Linked DNA regions of Homo sapiens: region 2 is linked to region 1. The links are contacts of gene promoters, found by promoter capture Hi-C in blood cells and fetal thymus (Javierre and others, 2016). All regions are on one chromosome and are shown on one strand. The core of a region is centred on a gene start or on the middle of the fragment in contact, and the rest is flanking DNA. Distances in the headings are between cores, read along the strand shown.

The links. Contacts are between HindIII fragments. The CHiCAGO score rates a contact against its expected background, and 5 or more counts as called.
Region 2: a fragment that was not itself captured here is called in contact with the fragment with the promoter of FAM241B in region 1 in 4 of 17 cell types (naive CD4 T cells, non-activated CD4 T cells, naive CD8 T cells and 1 more); the score reaches 7.3 in naive CD4 T cells.

The regions. Positions count from the first base shown.
Region 1 is chr10:69,628,702-69,635,285 of GRCh38, reverse strand. It overlaps FAM241B (family with sequence similarity 241 member B), which reads right to left and starts at 5,039. Exons shown (of 4, transcript NM_145306.3): 1 at 4,973-5,039; 2 at 3,739-3,806; 3 at 3,447-3,577; 4 at 1,690-2,496. The coding sequence starts at 3,542. The coding sequence ends at 2,227. RefSeq lists an enhancer at 3,611-4,496. The HindIII fragment of the contact is 17,043 bases long and covers 3,722-6,584 here.
Region 2 is chr10:69,497,062-69,503,507 of GRCh38, reverse strand. It overlaps TSPAN15 (tetraspanin 15), which reads right to left. Exons shown (of 8, transcript NM_012339.5): 5 at 5,112-5,228. Among named protein-coding and RNA genes, the nearest start is that of TSPAN15, 49 kb to the right of the region's middle. The HindIII fragment of the contact is 1,941 bases long and covers 4,143-6,083 here.

The DNA of each region.
Region 1 (6,584 bases), core at 3,790-6,289:
TGCAGGGTGCAGCCGCCCGGTGAGGCCTGGGTCAGTAGGTGCAGGTGAGAGACCTGCTGGGGGAATTCAGGCAGGCTGGAAGCACATGGCCCCAGGCCACTCCCAGCTGCAGGCTGCAGGACCCCAGCGGGGTCTCCCCACACTAAGCTGCCTCTGTCTCCAGCACCTTTCAGACACTGGGCTTAGGAAGTGAGGCAGAGAAGACAGGTAGCTCAGAAAAAGGCCAAGAGTCCAATCCAACCACAGCAGCTCTATGGGGCCTGGAGCTCAGTCAACAAACAGGGCAAGACTTCACCTCCTCTTGGTCCCCACCAACTGACTTCCAGCCCCCAGCCCTGCCTCTTAGGCCGGCTAAGCACCAAGCAAGCCTCAGGAAAAGCCATCTCTGCCCACTGTGGCCCCTGCCCACTTCCGCCATCCTGCCTAAAGCCAGGCAGGCCTCTCTCCTCCCGCTCTTTCTAGTCAGGCGCAGAGGGAAGCCCTGCTCACCCCTGCCTTCTCTAACGGACCCTAATTCTCAAAGGGCTTGGACGTTGGGAATGGAAACTGAGTTCTAGAAAAAGGTATTGTTATCAGCCCTGAATTTGAGGACTCAGATTCATATCCCCTCAAGGTATTTTATATATTGGGGTTTTCCACTCATAATTTATTTTTTCAGAGTTCTGCAGCTTTGCAAGGGGAAAATGAAAGGGAAAACCCACCCCTAAGAGAAGCTGAGAGAAAAGAGAATTAGGAGAGTGGGGTATGGCCAGGAACTTCCCTGCGGCTGGCGGGCTGGAGCTGTAGGGGCTTGGAGCCAGGCAAGTGGGTAGGCCGAAGTGTCAGGACAGAAGGAGATGCCACGGGGGCCAGCTGGGACATCAGCAGGGCTGAGCCCCCACCTCTCTTTGTCCAGGCCCCAGGTGAGAAGCTCCTGTTCCAGACAGCATGGCAGGCTCTCAGATGGAGGGGTGGCCTCAAGCTCCTTCTAGCGCCCATCCTCCCCGAGACCTAGCAACTCCAAAACATGCCTTCCTCCCTGCAAACAACCAAACCCAGCGGATCCCAAGAAAAGGATGAGAAACCTGGTGCCAGGACAGGCAAGTCCTTGACTCACCCAGCCTCCCTCCAACCCATAAATAACCCTCCTCCCTCTGTGGCCCAGAGCCTCAGCCACCCAGTGCCTCCCCAGGCAGGGCCTCCACGCAGACCCAGGGCTCACATGTCAAAACGCAAGGCCTCCTCTCCAGAGAAGCAGGGCATCCTCATTCCACATGCACCATTTTCTAAGGAGAATGCACTGCAGCCAGGGGTGACAGAAGCCTCTGGAGGGTGAAAGAGGCTGAGCAGCCTCTGGTCAGGAAGGTCTCCTTAAGCAAGGGAGACCTCGGACCTGCACCCCAGCTCTCCCGACCCTGCAGCCTCACCAGCCATTCTGGCCAGAGGAACCCTCCCCACAAAGCTGACCATCATGCCTGGCATCTCAGAGTGAGGCTGGAAGTTATCCACACATCAGGCAAGGGGTCCAAGCCAGATCTCATCTAGACCTTCTCTCCTAGTTCTGCGTTCCTACTGAGAAAATCTTAGAAACCACCCTCTGAGGTCAAATGCTCGCTGCTGCCTGTTCCCCGAACCCAATCCCTCTTTACCATGTTTTCCGGATCTGCATGCAGGTGTACGATTATTCATACATTTCTTTATATGGACTCATTTTTACTTAAATCTATTTATTGAAAAGGTCACAATAAATAGAATGCCACTACCACTTGTCCTAAACAATAAAGTAGCCAATAAAAATATACCATTAAAACAAAAACAGTGCTAAAAAAGTCTGGAATTTTTTCCACCTGCCCTAAGCCCAAGTCCTGCTCCCTAGGCAGAGGAGACGTCGGCATGTCTTCCACAGGCATCGGAACATGTTGGCATCCAGCTGAGATCTTCTCGGCATAAAAGGATTGAGAGAATTGGGAAGGGCATCGCTTTCTTGCTCTGATTTTGTGCCACTTAATGCAGGCCCCATACCACCTAAAAGTATCTTGGGAACCAACGGACCCACCCACACTTTGGAAATGCTGGACTAACGTCTCCCTCTGCCTCACGCTTAACACAAAGGGGAAACACACACCTGTGGTCCCCTCTCTGATCATACCTTCAAGGCACCACCAGATCCCCTCCAAATATGCCTGCTCTCACACCAAGGCCCAGCAAGTCCCTCTCAACAAACCCACCCCTATCAGCCCTCAGAGGTCACCGCTGACTCAGGTGGGACACCAGGTAGACAAGGCCAACCAGGAGGAGGCCACGAACACCAAGCATCATGAGCAGGAAGAGGAGCAGGATGGAGGTCACCGGCTCCACAGCATGGTTGCCAAGATGCCACTGCGGAAAGCCCATGTTCACCAGCTGCCGGTTGAGGTCATTGAAGGGGGACTGAGCAGCACCCAGCCTGGCACCTGCCTGCTGCTGGCGGGGGCCAGGACCCCCTGGGGGAGCACCATGGCCCCTGTTGAAGAAGCTCTGGAATGTGAAGACAGAGAGAGATGAATGAATCATTGGGTTGACGCACCAGCCAGGAATCAACCTCTCTAGGCTGCATCCTGCCCTTCCTACAGCCACCCAGGGTCACACCCTCCTTTCTCAGCAATCCCCCATGCCACCCATAAGAATCCCAACAACCAAGTCACAAGCTCTCAGAGCACAGAACATGCCAGTCTATATTCCTCACATCAGGCCCAGGACAGAGGAGAGAGGAAGTGGTTGAGGCAGGTTGGACTACAGGGCATGGCTCTAGGGCCAGCATTTTTAATACTCATCATCACTCCTTTCTTTTTTTTTTTTTTTTTTTTTTTGAGACGGAGTCTCGCTCTGTCACCCAGGCTGGAGTGCAATGGCGCGATCTCAGCTCACTGCAACCTCCGCCTCCCAGGTTCAAGCGATTCTCCTGCCTCAGCCTCCTGAGTAGCTGGGATTACAGGCATGCACCACCACACCTGGCTAATTTTGTATTTTTAGTAGAGATGGGGTTTCATCATGTTGGTCAGGCTGGTCTCAAACTCCTGGCCTCCTGATCCGCCCACCTCAGCCTCCCAAAGTGCTGGGATTACAGGTGTGAGCCACCGCGCCCAGCCACCCCTTTAAAATGATTATTCTGTGCCCAGGGCTCATCTCCTCCACTTCCTCTCCAGCTTCTGTCATCCAACCCACTCTTAAAAGAAAGACGCTAGCTCCAGTGAGGTTTGCTAACCAAGTTAAAGGAGAGAGAGCTCTTGGCTGTGAAGTCTGGGGAGGCGCCTGGAGAAAGGAGATCTGGGGAGGTAGACAATAAGCCACTGCATCTTCCCCAGCTCTCTGCAAAGAGGGCTTCAGGCTAGAAAAGGTTAGTGACCAGCAAGAGAGACTTCTGGAAGCTAGGAGTAGCCAGTACACAGGAGGCCATCTGTCCCACTCCACAGGAAATGAGTACCTACCTGTCGAGGAATGCTACCTCTTGGTGGCTGGGTAGTGGTCCTCACTCGGGGGTCGTCATCCTGCACGATTTCCCCATTGGCCAAGATCCGCACCATCCTCCCAGGCGCTGTGGGTCCCTGATGGGCTGCACCTGCATTGTGTGGTCAGGGTGGGCAGGCTAATGGAAGCCAAGTGGCACAGAAGTTCTCCCCACCACAAAACCTTTAGCTGTTAGTGATCTGGGACCAGACTCGTGAAGATCTGTGGAGGATTTTCCCCCTGACCTCAAAAAGCTTGAAGGAAAAAATTTACCAGAAATTGAGGGAGGCTTGCAGTCAGTGATGTTCACAGAGGTGACCCACGCTGAGTAGATGCTGTGTCTGATTAACAAAAAGGGGAGAAATAAAGGCAAGTTGTTTGCCAGGCAAAAAGATTTCAGACATTGAGTCCACCAGGAAAACTATCAAAAAGATCCTTGGCAAAGGAAGTTTTACTGCCAATCACTACACTGCCAACAGCACAACTGGGACTAGAGCCTCTGCTGTGGCCCACGCCCCGTGGAAGGCCCATCCTGCAAGGCTCACCTCACTCAAGCCTCACAACACTCCCCCGAGGAGGGTACTAGCGCGGCCATTGCACAGGCGGAGGCACAGGGAGACTTAAGTGGCCTGCCCGGGATCACACCTACGGACAGCAGAGAAGGAACACGAGGCCAGAAGCTCTGGTTCTAGGGCCCTCCCTGGGTACTAAACTGGGAGTCCAGGGCACCAGCATCCCCAGTGGGGTTCCAATTCCCTTCCACTAAAAAATGGGTCGAGTGTGTTGCTCCCCCAGGGAGTCAATGTCACCACCTGGGCCTTCCCCAGGAACACCCAGGGAGATGAGGGTCACTTCGGGGTTACTTTACAACCACTGCCTGGTAGCGGCAGACCATCCTAGCCATCATGCGCCTCGGAAGAGCACACCTTTGCTGCAGAGGGCACGCCCCTCACCTGTCCCTCACTTCGCAGGGAACACCAGTCCAACCTTGGCTAACGGGCGCAGGGCCCAGCCTTCCCAAAATATGGGAGGGGGTTGCTGCGGTGGCCCTCGAAAGGCTCCACTCCGCGGACCCCTGGACTGCGGGGCCCCTCCACGCCTCCCCTTGAGTCTGGGTAAAGGCCATTCATTCTCAGGAGATGAGCCTCAGTGTCCACCTACATTCCAGATAGCACTGGTGACATGTATGCCGAAAAAGGTCAGGAGCCCTGTGGTCTTGCCCGTAGCCTGGAGCCCGGGACAGGCGCGTCCCCCTCCTGAAGCCCGCTGGCCCTGGCGCAGGCCGAGCGGATGGTGGTCGCGCGCAGTCCCTTTGTGCTTTGTCATCGCGCCCCCGCCCGGTGGGCCACCCGCGCGCCCGGCCCGCGGCGCACCTGACATTCCGGGCCGGGGGCGGGAGGGACGCTGCCCCGGCCGCCAGCCCCAGCCTCTGGAGCCCGACACCGGCTCCAAGTCCCGGCCCGGGCTGCAGCGAGGGATGCGCTCCCTCCCCGGCGCGGCGACTCACCTGCAGGCGCGACTCCGGGCCTCGGCGGCGTCCACTCCCGGCGGCTCCAGGCGGTTTCCTCCCACCTGACCTCACAGGAAGCGCGCGCCGGAGGGGCGCGGCCCAGTGGCGGCGCACATCGCCCTCTGTAGGCCGCCTGAGGAATTGCACCTGCCCGGCCCAGGGTTGGGGGCGGCGCGGGGTGCTGGGGGTCGGGGAGATGGGGCGTGGGAAGGAGTGGGAGGTGGGGATGGAGAGAAAAGAGGATGGGAGGAGAAGACACGTGGAAAAGAAGGAGAAGAAGGAGGAGGGAGAAAAGAAGGAAAAGGAAGCGGCGTCCACGGAGGAAAAACCCAGGGGGTGGGGGCGCCCTGGCCTGGGAGGAAGGGCGGGCGCAGGCTCAGATGACCAGTGTTATGTTTGCTGACCCAGCTCCGTGGATGCCCCTTGAGTAGGACCCAACCCTGCCCTCTAGGAGTTCCAAGTTCAGTGGGGAAGATGAGGCAGGAACGGGGCAGAACCCTCTGTAGGCTTCCAGGAGAAGATGCGTTTGAGCTGGGGCAGGAGGGTAGGTAAGGATAGAGAAGGTCACTCTTGGCAGAAGGAACCACCTGCAGGGAGTGAATGATCCACCTCTGCCTCCTTCCTGATGTTTTAAAATCCACTTCTCCCCCACCACCTTCATAAGCTGCTCCCTGTGGACCTGCTCACCAGTGGGGGAGAATGAGCTGTGCAGTCCCACAGTCTGGGTTCAGGTTCTGGACTCTAGCAAGTTACTTAGCTGCTCAGTGTCACAAAGCAGGTGTAATCATAGCCTTACAGGACTTCTGTGAAGATTAAGTATGATGTCTCTGGCACATTGGCAATGTTGATAAACGTTAGCTATGATTATCATTTAATAAATGTTTGTGGGAGTGGCAGATATTTGTTGAGCATTTATTAGAACCCAGATTCTGCTAGCTGCTGGGCAGAAGGAACAAAACTAAGAGAGAGATTTAGACCTGGCCTGGAGGACTCATAGTCGGCCACCATAGTCTGATTATTTGATCATGAAACCTTATCAGCAAAAAATGTTTCACGGGTCGCTCTGGTATCTGTATCTTATTTATATGTTACTATTTTTGTTTGTTTCTAAATTACACATGTGTACTGTGAGAACAGATTGGCATGATGGATAAAAGGTGGCTGCTGGAGCCATCCTGTGTTTGAATGTTGGTGTGACTGCTTTCTGGCACTTTCGTGTCAAGTGCTTGGATGAGAGCCTGGCTGCAGTACATGCTCAACGGCTGCTGACTGTTATGATCATTACCTCTTCTACTATCAAGTCGATTGTAAAGCATGCACATTTTAAAAGCATAGGATGTAAAGTAAATATAAACCAAAATCCTAGTGCTTTCTCCCCACACCCCAGTGTGTTCCAGGTATGCCAAGTGCACGCATGAAAGCAGTAATCACAAGGCAGGATGCCCGATTGTCAGAGGTGGCCTGTGATCCCAAATCGCAATGTGCACATTGGAATTACCTGGAATGTTTAGAAACCATCCCAATACCTAGGTTCCACCCCAGAGATCACAATGTCGTTGATCTGGGTTACAATCTGTGCATGGAGACATTTTAAAAACCAGTCTTCTAA
Region 2 (6,446 bases), core at 3,864-6,363, 130 kb after region 1:
GTACTCAATACATATTTGTTAACTGAGAAAATGAATGAATGAATAGGTTGTGATGATCACAGAACCCACCTCCTAGGGCTGTTTTGGACATAAAGTGAGATACACATATAAAGTGCTTATCACGGGGCTGGGCACATGGAGGAGCACAAGAATGCTGGCTGGCGTGATTTGTTCACAATTCCAGCCCCTGCAAAGGAAAGGGAGGGTGTCTTCTCTCCTTCCGAGAGAGGGTTGGGCCTCAGATGTCATCTAGGTCATTCTAAATGTCAGGGCTTGATGTGCAGGCAAGACGACCTCCCTCGGTTTAGCTGGTTCTCCAGGTAGCCTCAGTCCCAGCCATGCCCAGTGCCCACTGGGCATTAGTCAGCCAGTGTTTTTGGCCCTTCCAGGCCATAAACACAACCCCTATGGAGAGGGTCAGGCCTGGAGAGCAGGTGCACGGGCACATGATGGGAGTGAGTGCTTTCCATCTCATTGGTTCATTCATTTGTTCATTGAACAAATATTAACTGAGCACCTATTGCATGTCAATCCCAGTTCTAGTCACTTGAAATACAGAACAACAAGACAAAGTCCCTGCCTTCATGGAACTTACACTGTAGAAAGGGAGATAATGAACATAACAAATAGGTAAGCTGCATGGTACGTAGGGAGGTGACAAGAGTGACTTCACTGGGCCAGCTCTGGTGACCTCGGGGGATGAGTCTCTTAGCACACAGGCAACTGGCAGAGGCCTCTCTGGCATCAGAGCCCAGAACCCTTCTCCAGGCCCAGGGGGGACTCACCTCACCCTGCCAGGAGAGCCCCTCACCAAGGGGTGAGGGGATACGATGCATCCATAGTCTTTCCAAAAGTAAAGCCTGCCTGGGTTTACCTGCCTGACCATAGAATCGATATTCTGCAAGAGGCTCTGCTGAAGTTCACAGGCCCCAAGACCAGGGTCCAGTAGCCTCTTCCATCCTGCACGGGGCCACAGGACAGGAAGTCAGAAGGGGGACTCCTGGGCAGCCAGAAGATCACAGCAATGTTTGTGTGTGCATCCTCTCACCCTGAAAAGACTGAGCAGCTAATGGGGACAGGGAGAGGGGCCTTCGCGACAGGCCCCCAAGGGGTAGCCAACAACAAGGGAGGGGAGGTACGTGAAAATTGGTCCCAAGAGCTCAGCAGGCACAGCAGTCTGGAGCCATTTAATGTAGAAGCACGCTGCCCTCTGCACCAACATCTCCGAGGGATATATCCTGGTATAACCAGATTTTACAGCCCTATGTGAACTTCTATGGCTCAAATCCTCTATTGGAAGCTCATATAAGACATTTCTTTTAAAGCTGAGTGTTAGGGAAAAGGTTACTTTCCCTGAAGAACTGGTATGTTCTGCTGGTATGTTCTGCTGAACAGTAACAATGTAACAGACCATGTCTCCCTTTTCCTTTTGGTTGCCAGGAAACTCTAAGCCAGTGGTCTCCAACCTTTCTGGCACCAGAGACTGGTTTCAAGGAAAATAATTTTTCCACAGGATGGGGTGCGGGGGGGTGGGGGGTGATGGTGTCGGGATGAAACCATTCCACCTCAGATCATCAGGCATTAGTTTGATTCTCATAAGGAGCATGCACCCTAGGTCCCTTGCATGCACAGTTTACAATAGGGTTCACACTCCTATGCGACTCTAATGCTGCTGCTGATGTGACAGGAGGTGTAGCTCAGGTGGCAATGCTCCCTCAACCTCTGCCCACCTCCTGTTGTGCGACCTGGTTCCTAACAAGCCACTGACCGGTACTGGTTCATGGCCTGGAGGTAGGGGAGCCCTGCTCCAAGCCACCAGACACGAGGCTCAGCTCCTTTTCAGTGAGTCCATGAGGTCCTGAGGCTTAGATAGCAGGATTTTATATTTTTCTCCATCATCTAGGCCTCCTATCTGAGAATACAATTCCCACAGTCCTGATTTTTAATGCTATTTTAGTTTTTTACACTACATATTTCCCGTGTACTCATTCAAATCCCAGGTTGAATAGTACAGTGTAAAATAAATAGATCTGGACACAAATCAACCAGTTCTATGGAGGAAGCGAACGCCCTGTTTCACATTTAGAGAAAATCATCCAGGTGTGGTGGCACAGGGAGACTCAATGGTCATGTGTAACACAGGGTCAGATAACCCCGGCCAGGGGAAGGCTCCTCCCTACCTCAGTGCTCTCATTCAGATGCTGTCTTTAGATTCTACCCTATCTGCAGATGATGTCCGTGTTTACACCCCTTGCCTAGTCGTTCCCAGAACTCCAGACTCCTATATCCAACCGCATCTTTGACACCCCTGATGGGATGCTGAACAGGCTCTCAAACCCCCCACGTCCACGGTGAGCTCCTGGTCACCCAGCCTGCCTCCTTGCAGTCCTCCCCTCTCAGGCAGTGGCAGCCCCGTCTTTCCTGTGGCTCAGACCAAAACCTGGGTATCCTCCTTGATTTCTCTCTTTCATTCATCGCCCACATCTGCTATGCGAGCAAATCCTGTAGGCTTACTTGCAAAATACAGCCAGAATGTCACCACGGTTTGCCACTTCCACCACCACCACCACCACCCAGCTCCAAGCATCTGTCTTCCCCTCCCTGGTGCAGGGATGCTGTGGGGAGCCCTTAGGTGTCAGCCCCCTGCAATAACTACTTCATGTGATCATTAATTTTATATGTCAACATGACCAGGCCATGGGATACCCAGATATTTGGCCAGACATTATCCTGGGTGTCTCTGTGGGGGTGTTTCTGCATGAGGCTAATGTTTAAATCAGCAGACTAAGTAAAGCAGATGGCCCTGCCCAAGGGGGAGAGGTCTCATCTGATCAGGGAAGGCCTGAACAGAACAAAAGACTGCCCTCTCCTCAGTGACCATAAGAGAATTCTCCCTGCTTGGCTACCTTCGGGCTTGAACTGAAATGCTGGCTCTTCCTAGGTTTGAAGCCTGACCAGCCTTTGAATGGGAACTCCACCCTCAGCTCTCCTGGGTCTCCAGCCTGCCGACTCACCCTGCAGATCTTGGGACTTGCCCGCCTCCATAATTACACAAGCCAATTCCTTATCATCAATCAATCCCTCTCTTTCCTCTTGCTGTATTAGTCTGTTCTTGGCTGAACAGAGCCAGCAAGTCCCTTCTTGGGTGGACCACTGGACTCATGCAATGCCTGGTCAATGTGGGTGGGAGTGTGAAGGCCTGGCCCCCTCACCCCAGTAGGGGACAACTCTGAAGGGCTGTCCTCATAGATGTGGCTGAGGCCTCCAGCCGAACTGAGCTGAGGCTGCATCACTGCTCAACTCCCTTCATTGCCCAATCCCGCTTCTGGCTCCCACTTCCACAGGTGTTGATCCAAGAGCACCTTCCTGGACAAGATGACCTATGACCCCTGGATCACTGCATATCAGCCCCTAACTCTATCCCTGCATCTAGCATGTCCCTCACAACAGCCAGACTGATTCTTGTAAAACCAAGTCAGAGTGCCCCTCTTCCATGCAGCCCTGTATGGTCCATCACTCAAGGGTGCCCCACAGTCCTGCCTGTGGCCTTCGGGGTACCCATGACCTCCCTGACTCCACCTCCTACCATCCTCCGCTGTGCTCCCTCTGCTCCAGCCACTCTGTGCATTTCTCAAACGCCCTGGGGTGATTCCCACCTGGGGCCTTTGCACAGCTGTTCTTGCTGCCAGGAATGCCCCTCCCCCAGACACCTTCCTCACTTTCTTCAGAGCTTCACCCAGATCCCGCCTTTCTCAGTATCCCAAACTGCAATCCTCCATGCCCTACTTTCTTTTTCTACTCAGCATTTATGATCCTCTATCTTTTACTTATTTTGTTTGTCAGTTTTCTCCACTAGGATGTCACCTCCTTGCGGGCAGAGACTTTGTTTGCTACACCCCCAGAACCTGGAAATGTGTCTGGCATAGAGTAGGTTCTCAGCCAATATTTGTTGAATGAATGAATGAATGAATGAATACAAGTTTGGCTTCCACATCTCAGCTTAGGTATTCAGATGCTGCTGCCCTGGGTGATGAGGTTCAGGATCACCCCACGCAGGCCTCTCTGGAAACTCTGCTACTCCTCAGCACCCCACTTCCCAGAGAACTACCCTAAAATGGCAGCTAACACTTCCAAACAAAGCTTCCCTCCTGGCCCGGCCTTTTTTAGAGCTAGTGCACTTGGCACTGGCTCTCTGACTCATGGGCGAGGCCCCCACCCGCAGCTGCTCAGTTTACAGAATCCAGCAGTGGGCACAGAATGGTGGCAATGTCAGGAGAAAAACTTTCCATGACTATCTGGGCCATGAGTAATTGCAAAGCTCTCCACCTCGTTCCAATCCTGAAACAGTTTCTGGACACATTTGTCAAACACAAGGACTGATGAAGCCTTTCACTTAAGCGCTGACAACACAAGACATCATCCCAAATGACCAAGGTGACAGACCCGAGAGGATCGTGCTGGGGAGAGGAAGAGGATGGCATTTACGTCACCAGACCCCCTTCCAAGCACTCTGCTGCTGATGATCACCAGGACCTCAAGGCCAAAGACCAATGGAGATGCCCAAGGTGCAGGTCCTGCCTGCCTCCACTAATGCTGCAGAGCCAGCTACCCCCGCTAAGCTCCCCTGGCCTGGGCACCTCTCCCTCCTGCCCTCACCTGGCCTGCACAGTTCTCCAGAGTGTAGCTCAGGCAACAGCTGCCTGCACTTCATCCCAGCCCTGCCAACCTTGGGCAAGACACCCAGCCTTTGAGTGCCTCAATTTCCTCATCTGTAAAGTGGGTAAAATAACAGTACATACCTCACAGGGTTGTCGTGAATACTAAATGAGTAAATACCACCAAAGTGCCCAGAGCAGGCCTGCACAAGGTAGGTGCTCAATAGATTTTAACCAACACCACTAAGAAAGACATGGTCTCCCTACCCCCGACCCCCAGAAGCTCCACTTTCAGGAGCCCTTGAGAATCAGGAAAGCCTCCGCTCTGCCACCAACTCCTACTTCCCTGCCATCCACCCACACCACCCATCTTCAAGTTGGGAAGAGAGAAAAGAGAACATTTATACCACCTGGGGTCCCCGACAGCCCCCCAGTCCCCACAGGAGCAGTGTCTACCGTGTTCCTGATGCAGCAGGTGTAGGGCACCCCACAGGCCAGGGGTCCAGGGGCACTGCAGTCGTGGTACTGATTCTTGCTCCAATCTCGGTAGTCCTCCCCGCCACAGCACTTGAACTGAGGGAAGCAAGCAGGAAAGAGGAGCTGCCGTCATCGCCCAGGCCCTGCTCAGACGACAGGAAGGGGCCCTGTCAGGAGACGGAGGCAGTTTATTATGTGGGTCACCCTGGGGCAGGGAGAGGCTGTACACTTTCAAGTCAGAGCTGTCAAAGTGTGGCATGGCTGCCTAGAGGGTAGTGAACCCCCTGTCACTAGAGAGGTATGGAAGCCAAGGCTGGGCTGCCTCTTGGTGGGATATCAGGGTAGTGACTAGGCACTGGGAGGAAAGGTCCTTCCTTGACAACTGGCCTCCACTTTCTTCATCTTCGTGTCCCCAAATGCAGGTGCTAGGCTGGAAAAGATGGCCCTTAAAGTCCCAGAGACCAAGCATGATTCTGTGAAAGTCCCTGCACCTCAACCAACCTTCGCACCCACCCTAGGAGCCACCCCGTCCAGCTCAGCTGGCCCTGCCCTTAGCAAGGAGAGCACCCACACCTCACAACCTGCCTGGAGCTCTCCCCTTAGCCGAGCCCCTCCCTGCCTCCCCTCCCTGCTCCTGTAGGAAGTAGTTGGTAACCCTCCTGATGGCTGGTATGTGCCTGGCATTGTCCTGGGCACTGGAGAGACAGGGTGAGCAAAAGCAAGGCAGCCCTTGCTCAGGTGGAACACATTCCAGTGGAGAGACAGAGAGTGAGCACTGGATGGAAAGGTGCTGTGCAACCTGGAAATGGAGAAATAGGGGGAAAGTGGGGAGGGGCAGCTCTAGGTTGGCAGGTCATGAAAGGGCTCTTTGTAGAGAGGATATTTCATCTGAAACATGGAAACAGAAAGAAGCCAGACGACCCATGCAAAGGCCCCACGCAGAAACAAGCTTGTATTTCAGCAGCAGGTGCGGAGGCCAACAAGCCTGGAACAGAGAGAGTGCAGAGCATGAGGATGAAAGGGCGGCACAGGCTGGACCATGCAAAGCTTTGCCAGCCAGCTGAAGCAGGGAGCTGGGACTGGAGGGCTCAACCAGGGCTGCAGTACACGTCCTGGTAGCCAGACACCTTTCAGAGTCCCCACAGTGCCCCTTAAGCCACCAGGTTTTGGGACCTAGAACTGTCTTTCTGCAATGTAGTTCAAAGGGCATTTGTCTTGCAATGGAACAGACCCAAGGTCAAATCCTCAGACCACCACTCCCTGCTGTGCAACCTCAGGCAAGTTGGTCAGCCTCTCTGAGCCTCAGATGGTTGT